Regions from separate parts of the Homo sapiens genome. Here region 1 is linked to region 2. The links are contacts of gene promoters, found by promoter capture Hi-C in blood cells and fetal thymus (Javierre and others, 2016). All regions are on one chromosome and are shown on one strand. The core of a region is centred on a gene start or on the middle of the fragment in contact, and the rest is flanking DNA. Distances in the headings are between cores, read along the strand shown.

Region 1 (4,519 bases), core at 539-3,038, 41 kb before region 2:
AATTCTAACATTCTCTGATTCAAGGATACTGAGTCTAAAATCCTATGGCTGTAAGATTCTCTGCCTGTTCTAAGAATTCAAAATTCTATTTTTAGATCTCTAAGGTCCATTAGGCTTTGAGTCCATGATCCTCATAGCTCAAAGCCCTGGGGGCAACTGGGAAAGCGGATGCCAGCTGGGCACTCAGGTGGGTGCCTTCCCAGGCCTGGCTTCAGTTTGCCAGCCTGTGGAATGGGCGTAGAGGTGGTCACTACAGATCTTTCCAGATTTGCCCCTTCCTAGCTGTGACCAGAACATGTGACCTCACGTTTGCTCCCCATCTGTGCAGTGGGGATGACAGTAGTGCCTCCCTCGTAGGACATCATAGGATACTGCAGCTCACCAGCTTAGCCTGGCACCTGGCACAGTCAGGGCTCAGTGATGAGCAGCTGGCAGCACTGTTAGGATCCTCTAGCCCACTGTCCAGGTGCCCCTCCCTTAGTGCTGCTGTCCCAGGCTCAGGAGACCTGATGAAGGGTTGGGGAGAAGGATGGGTTGAGGACAGGTTAGGGGATGACCCAGGCTCAGAATCCTTCTCTTCTCCCAGCCCCAAGAACAGGGAGGAGATGCTCTGAACCCAGCCAGCTGGAGAAGCCACGGCCTAGGGGTTCCTTGCTACCCTTGGCTTCACCCAGCCTGGCACTCTGAGCCCGCTGCAGCCCCAGGTCCTTGGGGCAGGGGTAGCCAGGCGTGCTCAGAGGCGTTTGTTTGGATTTGGGGTGCCTTCCCTTCCCAGGAGCTTTGCACATCAACAGTGACATCCATATAGGGCAGTGCGGACCACAGCTCCCATTGGAGGGAGGAAGTGCAGGCCCAGTGTCAGGGATATTAGAAGAAGGGCTTCTCCTCTGAGAGATTTATCTTCCCTTCAGGGTTTTCTGCAGGGAGAATCCAAGGACAGCCAGGAGCCAGGGGATTGGGGGATCATTAGGAAGAGGGGGTGCAGTGGGTGGTCCAGACCCCAGAGGAGGCTCCTGCATCCAGCCTGGCTCTGCCTGGGCCTCCTCCTGAGCGTGGCTTTCCTCAGTGGGGCCTGACATTCCCCCTTGGCACTGGGCTTGGTCCACTGAAGGCTTCTCTGGTTCATTTGATGCCTGACACTGAGGCAGAGCTCGTGCCTGTGCGGAAGTGATGGGGCAGAAAGCAATGGGGAGGGTCCAAAGCTGGCTGGAGACTCCACAGGGGAGGGGATCAGAGTCTCGCAGGGGAGCCCAGAGGAGCCCCAGCTTCTTCTGCGCAGGCATGGGATGAGAAAGACACTAAGAAAGCACCTGGAGTGCGGGGGGGCTCTTGCTTATGCTGCAAATCCCTTCTGAAAATGTCCCCTTTTCCAGGCAGCTGGCCCCTCCAGCCAGGGGGAGGGACTACTCTTGGATAGCATCTGCTAAGTGAATTGTAAAGTTCTCCAACCCCAGCCGGCCTCTGGGGAGAAGGGGCCTCAGCCACCTGCCCCCCAGGTTCACAGCCAACCTTCCTGGGCAGGGCCTTTGGGAGGGGCACAGTGGGATGGCCCAGGCTGAGGGGGCACCTAAGGACTCTGACTCCCAGGGGAGGGGACACCCCAAGCCTGTGGTTCTTAACTCCATTTGGAACCTGAAGAATCTGATAACAGATCTGACATTAACCTTCACCTGGAGTTTAGGGCGTTCATGGATCCTCTGAAGTTCATCTAGGGAGCAGGTTTCCAGGTGAAGGTCCTGTGATATGAAGCAGTGTTTTTCAGATGTGAGGGCGAGACCTGTTGGTGGCAATGCAACCCACTTCACAGGGCCCTGCCAGCTGGGGCCTCACATGTAGAAAGGAAGGGCAGGTATTTGTTGGTGAAACAGTATGACTTCATGCCACACACCACACCCTCACTCCACGATGGAGAATGATCACCTCACCTCCCTGAGCCTCAGTTTCCTCATCTGAGAAAAGGGGATAACACGACTCAGCCTTGCGGGGCTGTGCGGGGTGAATGAGATGGTGCGTGCTAAGCACCTCCCATCTTCTGAAATCTCTCAGACGATGGGAGGATGGGCGTGCAGCAGGTCCCCAGGTTCGGCATGATGGGAGGGGGCAGCACAGAGAAAGCCATTCTCTGCTGTGACCGAGCTGTTTTTCCTTCCCCCAGGCAAATAGCTGACTGCTGACCACCCTCCCCTCAGCCATGGACATGCTTCATCCATCATCGGTGTCCACGACCTCAGAACCTGAGAATGCCTCCTCGGCCTGGCCCCCAGATGCCACCCTGGGCAACGTGTCGGCGGGCCCAAGCCCGGCAGGGCTGGCCGTCAGTGGCGTTCTGATCCCCCTGGTCTACCTGGTGGTGTGCGTGGTGGGCCTGCTGGGTAACTCGCTGGTCATCTATGTGGTCCTGCGGCACACGGCCAGCCCTTCAGTCACCAACGTCTACATCCTCAACCTGGCGCTGGCCGACGAGCTCTTCATGCTGGGGCTGCCCTTCCTGGCCGCCCAGAACGCCCTGTCCTACTGGCCCTTCGGCTCCCTCATGTGCCGCCTGGTCATGGCGGTGGATGGCATCAACCAGTTCACCAGCATATTCTGCCTGACTGTCATGAGCGTGGACCGCTACCTGGCCGTGGTACATCCCACCCGCTCGGCCCGCTGGCGCACAGCTCCGGTGGCCCGCACGGTCAGCGCGGCTGTGTGGGTGGCCTCAGCCGTGGTGGTGCTGCCCGTGGTGGTCTTCTCGGGAGTGCCCCGCGGCATGAGCACCTGCCACATGCAGTGGCCCGAGCCGGCGGCGGCCTGGCGAGCCGGCTTCATCATCTACACGGCCGCACTGGGCTTCTTCGGGCCGCTGCTGGTCATCTGCCTCTGCTACCTGCTCATCGTGGTGAAGGTGCGCTCAGCTGGGCGCCGGGTGTGGGCACCCTCGTGCCAGCGGCGGCGGCGCTCCGAACGCAGGGTCACGCGCATGGTGGTGGCCGTGGTGGCGCTCTTCGTGCTCTGCTGGATGCCCTTCTACGTGCTCAACATCGTCAACGTGGTGTGCCCACTGCCCGAGGAGCCTGCCTTCTTTGGGCTCTACTTCCTGGTGGTGGCGCTGCCCTATGCCAACAGCTGTGCCAACCCCATCCTTTATGGCTTCCTCTCCTACCGCTTCAAGCAGGGCTTCCGCAGGGTCCTGCTGCGGCCCTCCCGCCGTGTGCGCAGCCAGGAGCCCACTGTGGGGCCCCCGGAGAAGACTGAGGAGGAGGATGAGGAGGAGGAGGATGGGGAGGAGAGCAGGGAGGGGGGCAAGGGGAAGGAGATGAACGGCCGGGTCAGCCAGATCACGCAGCCTGGCACCAGCGGGCAGGAGCGGCCGCCCAGCAGAGTGGCCAGCAAGGAGCAGCAGCTCCTACCCCAAGAGGCTTCCACTGGGGAGAAGTCCAGCACGATGCGCATCAGCTACCTGTAGGGGCCTGGGGAAAGCCAGGATGGCCCGAGGAAGAGGCAGAAGCCGTGGGTGTGCCTAGGGCCTACTTCCCAAGGTGCCACAGGCCCATGATGGGATGTTGAGGGGCCTGGACTTTGATGCTATTGCTGCCAGGTCTTGCTGTGTGACCTTGGGTAGGTTGCTTCTACTCTCTGGGCCTTGTTTTCTCCTCTGTGACTCAGGGATAGGAGTCATCAGCCTGGATGAGCTATGTCAGATGAGAGGTTTGGAGGGCACTGTTGCTGGGCTGACCTGGCTGAGCAGGCAAAAGGTGGGTGCAGACTGGCCTCCCCCCAGGGATGGAGTGTCTTGGGGCATCAACTAGAATCTTGGCCCTCAGAGGGATAAACCAAGGCCAGGATTTCTTGGGCTCAGAGTCAGGAACACAGGAGCTGCTGGGGGCTGGGCTGGAAACCTAAACAGAAGAAAGCCTAACCCGGTGGGAGGAGTGGGGCAGAAATGGTCAGGCCCCAGATCAGCTCCCTCCCCTCGACTGTGAGGCCTTGGACCAGCTCTGCTCCTCTCTAGGCCTCAGGCTTCACCTGGGTAAAACCCAACAACCTCTACACCCTTTTGGCCCAGGCAGTCAATGCTGGAGGTCCTGTGCTCCTGGACGGGAAGAGCAGGTGAATTTCCTGCTCATGGAAGCGAATGAAGTCCAGCTTCAGGGTCTCTCACTGCCTGGGCTTTTGCAAGGCCCTGCATCTACTTTTGTACTTGTCATTTTGTATTCGTTTTCTTAAAGAGGGACCTCGAACTGCATAAGCTTAGGCCACCCAAAGCCTGGCTCTGCCCCTGCTGAGGTCAGCCACCCAATCCCCAAGGAAGCTCATGTTGGGTCTTATGGCTGGAGTAGGGGCCCCCGGGGGTTCCCAGGTCTTTTGAGGGCTTCCAGGCACCTCCTTGTAGGAAGGGCCATCCCTGTTCCTCTCCTTGTGACCCATATTCTCCCTTCCTGGAGACCGAGACAGGGACCCAGCCCATGAGGACTGGCATGGAAAGGCAGAGTGTCTGAAGAGCGCTGTGAGGAGAAGGAAGAGGAAGGGAGAAGAG
Region 2 (4,323 bases), core at 1,776-4,275:
CAAGGGTAAAGGCCTGGGAGGCTTCACGGAGGATGTGAACCCGGGGCCTGAAGGATGATGAGTCCGCGGGATAAGAAGGCAAAGGAAGGATGCCACATGCAGGGCAGGGAGGGGGCAAACCCTGGGAGGAGGGGGAGGCATGCAAGCGATTCTGCGTTCTGTGTGGCCAGAGGATTGGATGCAAAGGGGGATCTTCAAGAGGGGGCCCAGTTAGGGACAGCCTTGAAGCCAGACTCAGGATGCTTGGATAGGGTCTTGAGGGCAGTGGGGAGCCCCTGAAGAGTTGTGTGCAAGGATGCTCTGGATGCAGAGTGAAGGATGACATGGCAGCGTCCCGCTAACAAATATGAACCCCTCTGTAAACAGAACCCCTGTGTAAGCAAGAACCCTCTGTAAACAGAATCCCTCTGTAAACAGAACCCCTGTGTAAGCAAGAACCCCTCTGTAAACAAGAACCCCTCTGTAAACGTGTAAACAAGAACCCCTCTGTAAACAGAATCCATCTGTAAGCAAGAACCCCTCTGTAAACAGAACCCCTCTGTAAGCAAGAACCCCTCTGAAAACAGGAACCCCTCTGTAAACAGAACCCCTCTGTAAGTAAGAACCCCTCTCTGTAAGCAAGAACCCCTCTGTAAACAGAATCCATCTGTAAGCAAGAACCCCTCTGAAAACAAGAATCCTTCTGTAAACAGAACCCCTCTGTAAGCAAGAACCCCTCTGAAAACAAGAACCCTTCTGTAAACAGAACTCCTCTGTAAACAAGAACCCCTCTGTAAACAGCATCCCTCTGTAAACAAGGACCCCTCTGTAAGCGAGAACCCCTCTGTAAGCAATAACCCCTCTGTAAACAGCATCCCTCTGTAAACAGAACCCCTCTGTAAGCAAGAACCCCTCTGTAAGCAGAACCCCTATATAAGCAGTGCCCCTCTGGCACTGGGCGTGGAGGGAAGGAGATGGAGCTGGGGAAATATTAGGCTCTGGTGATAATTGTTGTTCCCCAACTGCCTTCAGCCACCTAGTCTGTGCCTTGGCTCTTGCAGCTCCCTCTGTCTTGGGCCCTTTCTCTCGACCCATTCCGGCCTATGGAACACTCATCCCCATCCTCCCAGAGAAGAGGAAGAACCCAGCCTTCCTCAGGTGCCTCCTGCATGCCAGGAACTGTGGGTGATGGCTTCTCTGTGTGCACAATCTCATGCCATCCCCATGAACCTAAGAGGTGGGGAGTAGTCGCATGTTTCAGATGCAGAAACAGGCTCAGAGAGGTAAAGGAACTTATCCAAGATCACACAGCTAGGAAGTGGCCAAGGTGGGATGGGGACCCAGCCCTCACTGCCTTTGCACAATGACCCACTGCCCACAGCACCGATGCCACATCCTCTGGAGCCTCCCCTATGGCTCCAGCCAAGCCACGTTCTATTTTTGGGTTTGTGTTTTTGTGTTTTGTCATTTGCAGGCGTTTCAAACTGGGCACGCTCTATGCCTCTCATACTCATTATGACCACATTTTCTAAAGACAAAACTGCACAGACAGCCTGAAAAAGTATTTTTTCTGTCTTGTTACTTTCTTTAATAACGTCTTAGCCAGTTTAGAATCAAATCACATGTATTTACTCTTCTCACGTGATACCAGGACTGTTCTGAAAGTTCAGGCCAAGGGTCACCACATTGACACGATTTCCTTAGTTATAATCATTTGCATACTTGTCCTACCTCCATACCAAGAGAAGGTACTCTGAGTTAGAGTTCAAATCCCACACATCCTTGTCATTCCCACAGTGCCCAGCATGCTGCTGCCAGCAGGTGCTCAGTAAATCCTTACTGAACTCATGCAAAGGGGACAGACGCCACCTCAGCCCAACACCAAGATTGTCCTCCCTCCCTCCCGCACCCCTTCCCTTCCTCCCTTGCTTCCCATCTTTCAATAAATGCAGTTTGAATGCATTTGTCACACAAAGCTTTAGGCTCAGAGAAGCTGTGGGACTCCATGCACTTCACCTGTGGCCTTGAGGCACCGCAGTCCAGCCAGGAAGACAGACACCAGGCAAATCCTCCCACCTATGCCCAGTCAATTAGGAATATGAGCACCTGATCCAGTGATGGGCAGGGCAGCATCCACTTTAGATGCACGGGGTGCTGGGAAAGCTGCCCTGAGAAAGTGACCGCAGGCTGAGGCCTGGGGCAGAGAGAACGTGGGCAGGGGCTCGAGGCAGGGAAGAGCTTGGAGACTTCCAGGAACTGCCAGACAGCCAGGGGCAGTGGGGCAAGGGAGAGAAGAAGCCAGAGAGGCCGCAGGCCTGGGCTTTCCATGGCGAGGAGGCCTGGATACTGCATAAGTGCAGCAGGAAATGTTGGGTGGGGTCGGATTTTCACTTTACAAGGGCAGTCGCTGGGGCAGAGGGCATGGGACTCAGGGAGGGACTCAGGAGGCAGAGAGATGGTGGGACGAGACTGAGGGTGCCGGCTGGGGCTGGGGGTAGAGGACTGTGAGCGCTTGGCACTTGGAGGCAGTCAGAGCTGGTCTGGGCAGGGGTGCTGTCACCCAGGGCCGAGGAAAGGGATACAGGAGGGGCAGAGGGTGGGTCGGAGGCTGTCCTGGGAACCCTAAACGTGGGGGCCAGGAGAAGGAGGTGCTCCCGTTTCTGATCTGTACCAATTAAGGGGAAGGTGAGAAATTGCTTGGGTGGAGTGTCCTTCTCTGAGTCTGGGGGTTAGGTGGGATGAGGGGACCTCGGAGGCTGGAGGCCAGAGTTCACACTCCTGCCCTGCTGTGTGACCTAAGGCTGAGAGCTGCCTCTCTCTGGGCCCAGATGCATCATTACCTATTCAGCAAGCAGCTGGGCCTGAGAGCCTCCGAGATCCCTTGCAGGTCTGCTGGTCTCGGCTGCCTTTCCTTGGTCTGCCCTCATGCTGTCTTCCCAGAAGCCAGGGGCCCAGTTTGCTTCCCCTGCTTGTCCTGTGGGCACTTGCGACTCCCGGGGAGGCAGCAGACACGGTCCAGCGTGGTCACGCTCCTGGCCGCGACTTCACCTCCCTCCTGCAGCACAAGTCTCGAGGAGGCTGGGGAGGTGCGCGCACTGCCCTCTGGTGGCAACTTCTGGGCCCACCTGTCATTGTGCCCTGCTGTTTTCTAACTCAATTATTCTTGAAGGGATGATTGAGCGCCTTTTGCATGCAAAGTCCCGAGGTAGGCATGAAGTAGTTGGGCAGTCCAGATGGGGGAGAAGGTGTCGTGGATGTGGAGCCCAGGGTGTCACTCTACGCGCTCCCGATCCCTCCCAAGGCCTAGGCGTCCTCCCTCCACCGCGGGAACGGAGCAGGGGTGGCACAGAACTCTGGTGGCTGCAATGAGGGTTCAACGGTTGAATGCGTGGAGTGCATCTTAGCTTCACTTCTGGCCCAGGAAGCGCAGGCTCCGTGTACAACACACGCAGCGGTGCAGTGCCTTCAAAGGGGGCGTGTGGCTGTGTGTGTGGATGTGCCAGTTTTGGGCTTCCTCTCGGCAGGAGGTGGGGGGGCGGGGAGGCTCTGGCGCTGAGTGCCCCCTTTCCATTGCGGTCCTTTGGTGCAGTTGAGGGTCCCCCCAGTAGCAGGGGCATTTCCAAGGAGCCAGGACTTCAAGGGCCTAAGGCTGGAGGGGCCCTGTCCAGTGCAACAGAGAGACCTTGAGCATGGGCGGTGAGGTCACCTCTCCTGGCCCAGCTATCAGCTGAGCTGGATGTGCATGGCTCAGGTTTGCACAAAGGAGGCCCACCTGTTCACAGGAGTTCTGGAAAGAACACACCTGTGGCAAAGACACACACACGTGCACACCAGACAGGCCATGATCTCGCTCCCCTGGCGAGGAATGACTTCCTTGCCGTAGGGAGAATTCAGGGGAGTCTGGCCCTCTTGAGGAGATGCTGTAGAGGGGAGTTGTGGACGGTTGGATTCAGGATGTTTTCAGCTCCAAGTGTCTGCTTTAGGCCGGTCTGCACCTGTGTCCTCCCCGCCTCTGTCCTTCTGGCACTTGCCCTGGGTAGGCCTGGCTCAAAGCCCTCTTCTCCCCTCCTCCCCCAACCCCACAAACAATAATAAAATTAAATTAAATTAAATTAAATTAAATTTTTAAAAAAAGCCCTCTTCTCCATGAAGCCTGCCCTGAAGAGGCAGCTGCCCAGGAGCATCTGCACATCTCATACAAACTTTAGCTGTGATTATATTGCATTCGTTCCCATGCCTATTTCCTGTCCCTGCAGCTAAACTCTGGGCTCCTTGAGGGCTGGGTGGAGTCTTGGGCATCTTTTGTGGCTGCTATAACTCCCAGCCCTGAGCCAGGATAATACA

The links. Contacts are between HindIII fragments. The CHiCAGO score rates a contact against its expected background, and 5 or more counts as called.
Region 1: a contact is called between a fragment that was not itself captured here and the fragment with the promoter of IL2RB-AS1 in region 2, in 1 of 17 cell types (naive CD4 T cells). The highest score is 5.3, in naive CD4 T cells.

Annotation. Positions count from the first base shown.
Region 1 is chr22:37,205,476-37,209,994 of GRCh38, reverse strand. SSTR3 (somatostatin receptor 3) reads left to right here. Exons shown (of 2, transcript NM_001051.5): 2 at 2,156-4,519. The coding sequence starts at 2,192. The coding sequence ends at 3,448. Among named protein-coding and RNA genes, the nearest start is that of SSTR3, 4.7 kb to the left of the region's middle. The HindIII fragment of the contact is 4,892 bases long and covers 1-4,234 here.
Region 2 is chr22:37,165,461-37,169,783 of GRCh38, reverse strand. It overlaps IL2RB-AS1 (IL2RB and C1QTNF6 antisense RNA 1), which reads right to left and starts at 3,025. Exons shown (of 2, transcript NR_199008.1): 1 at 2,820-3,025. It also overlaps a transcript of IL2RB not described here. RefSeq lists enhancers at 1,431-1,490, 2,805-2,854. The HindIII fragment of the contact is 5,870 bases long and covers 1,958-4,323 here.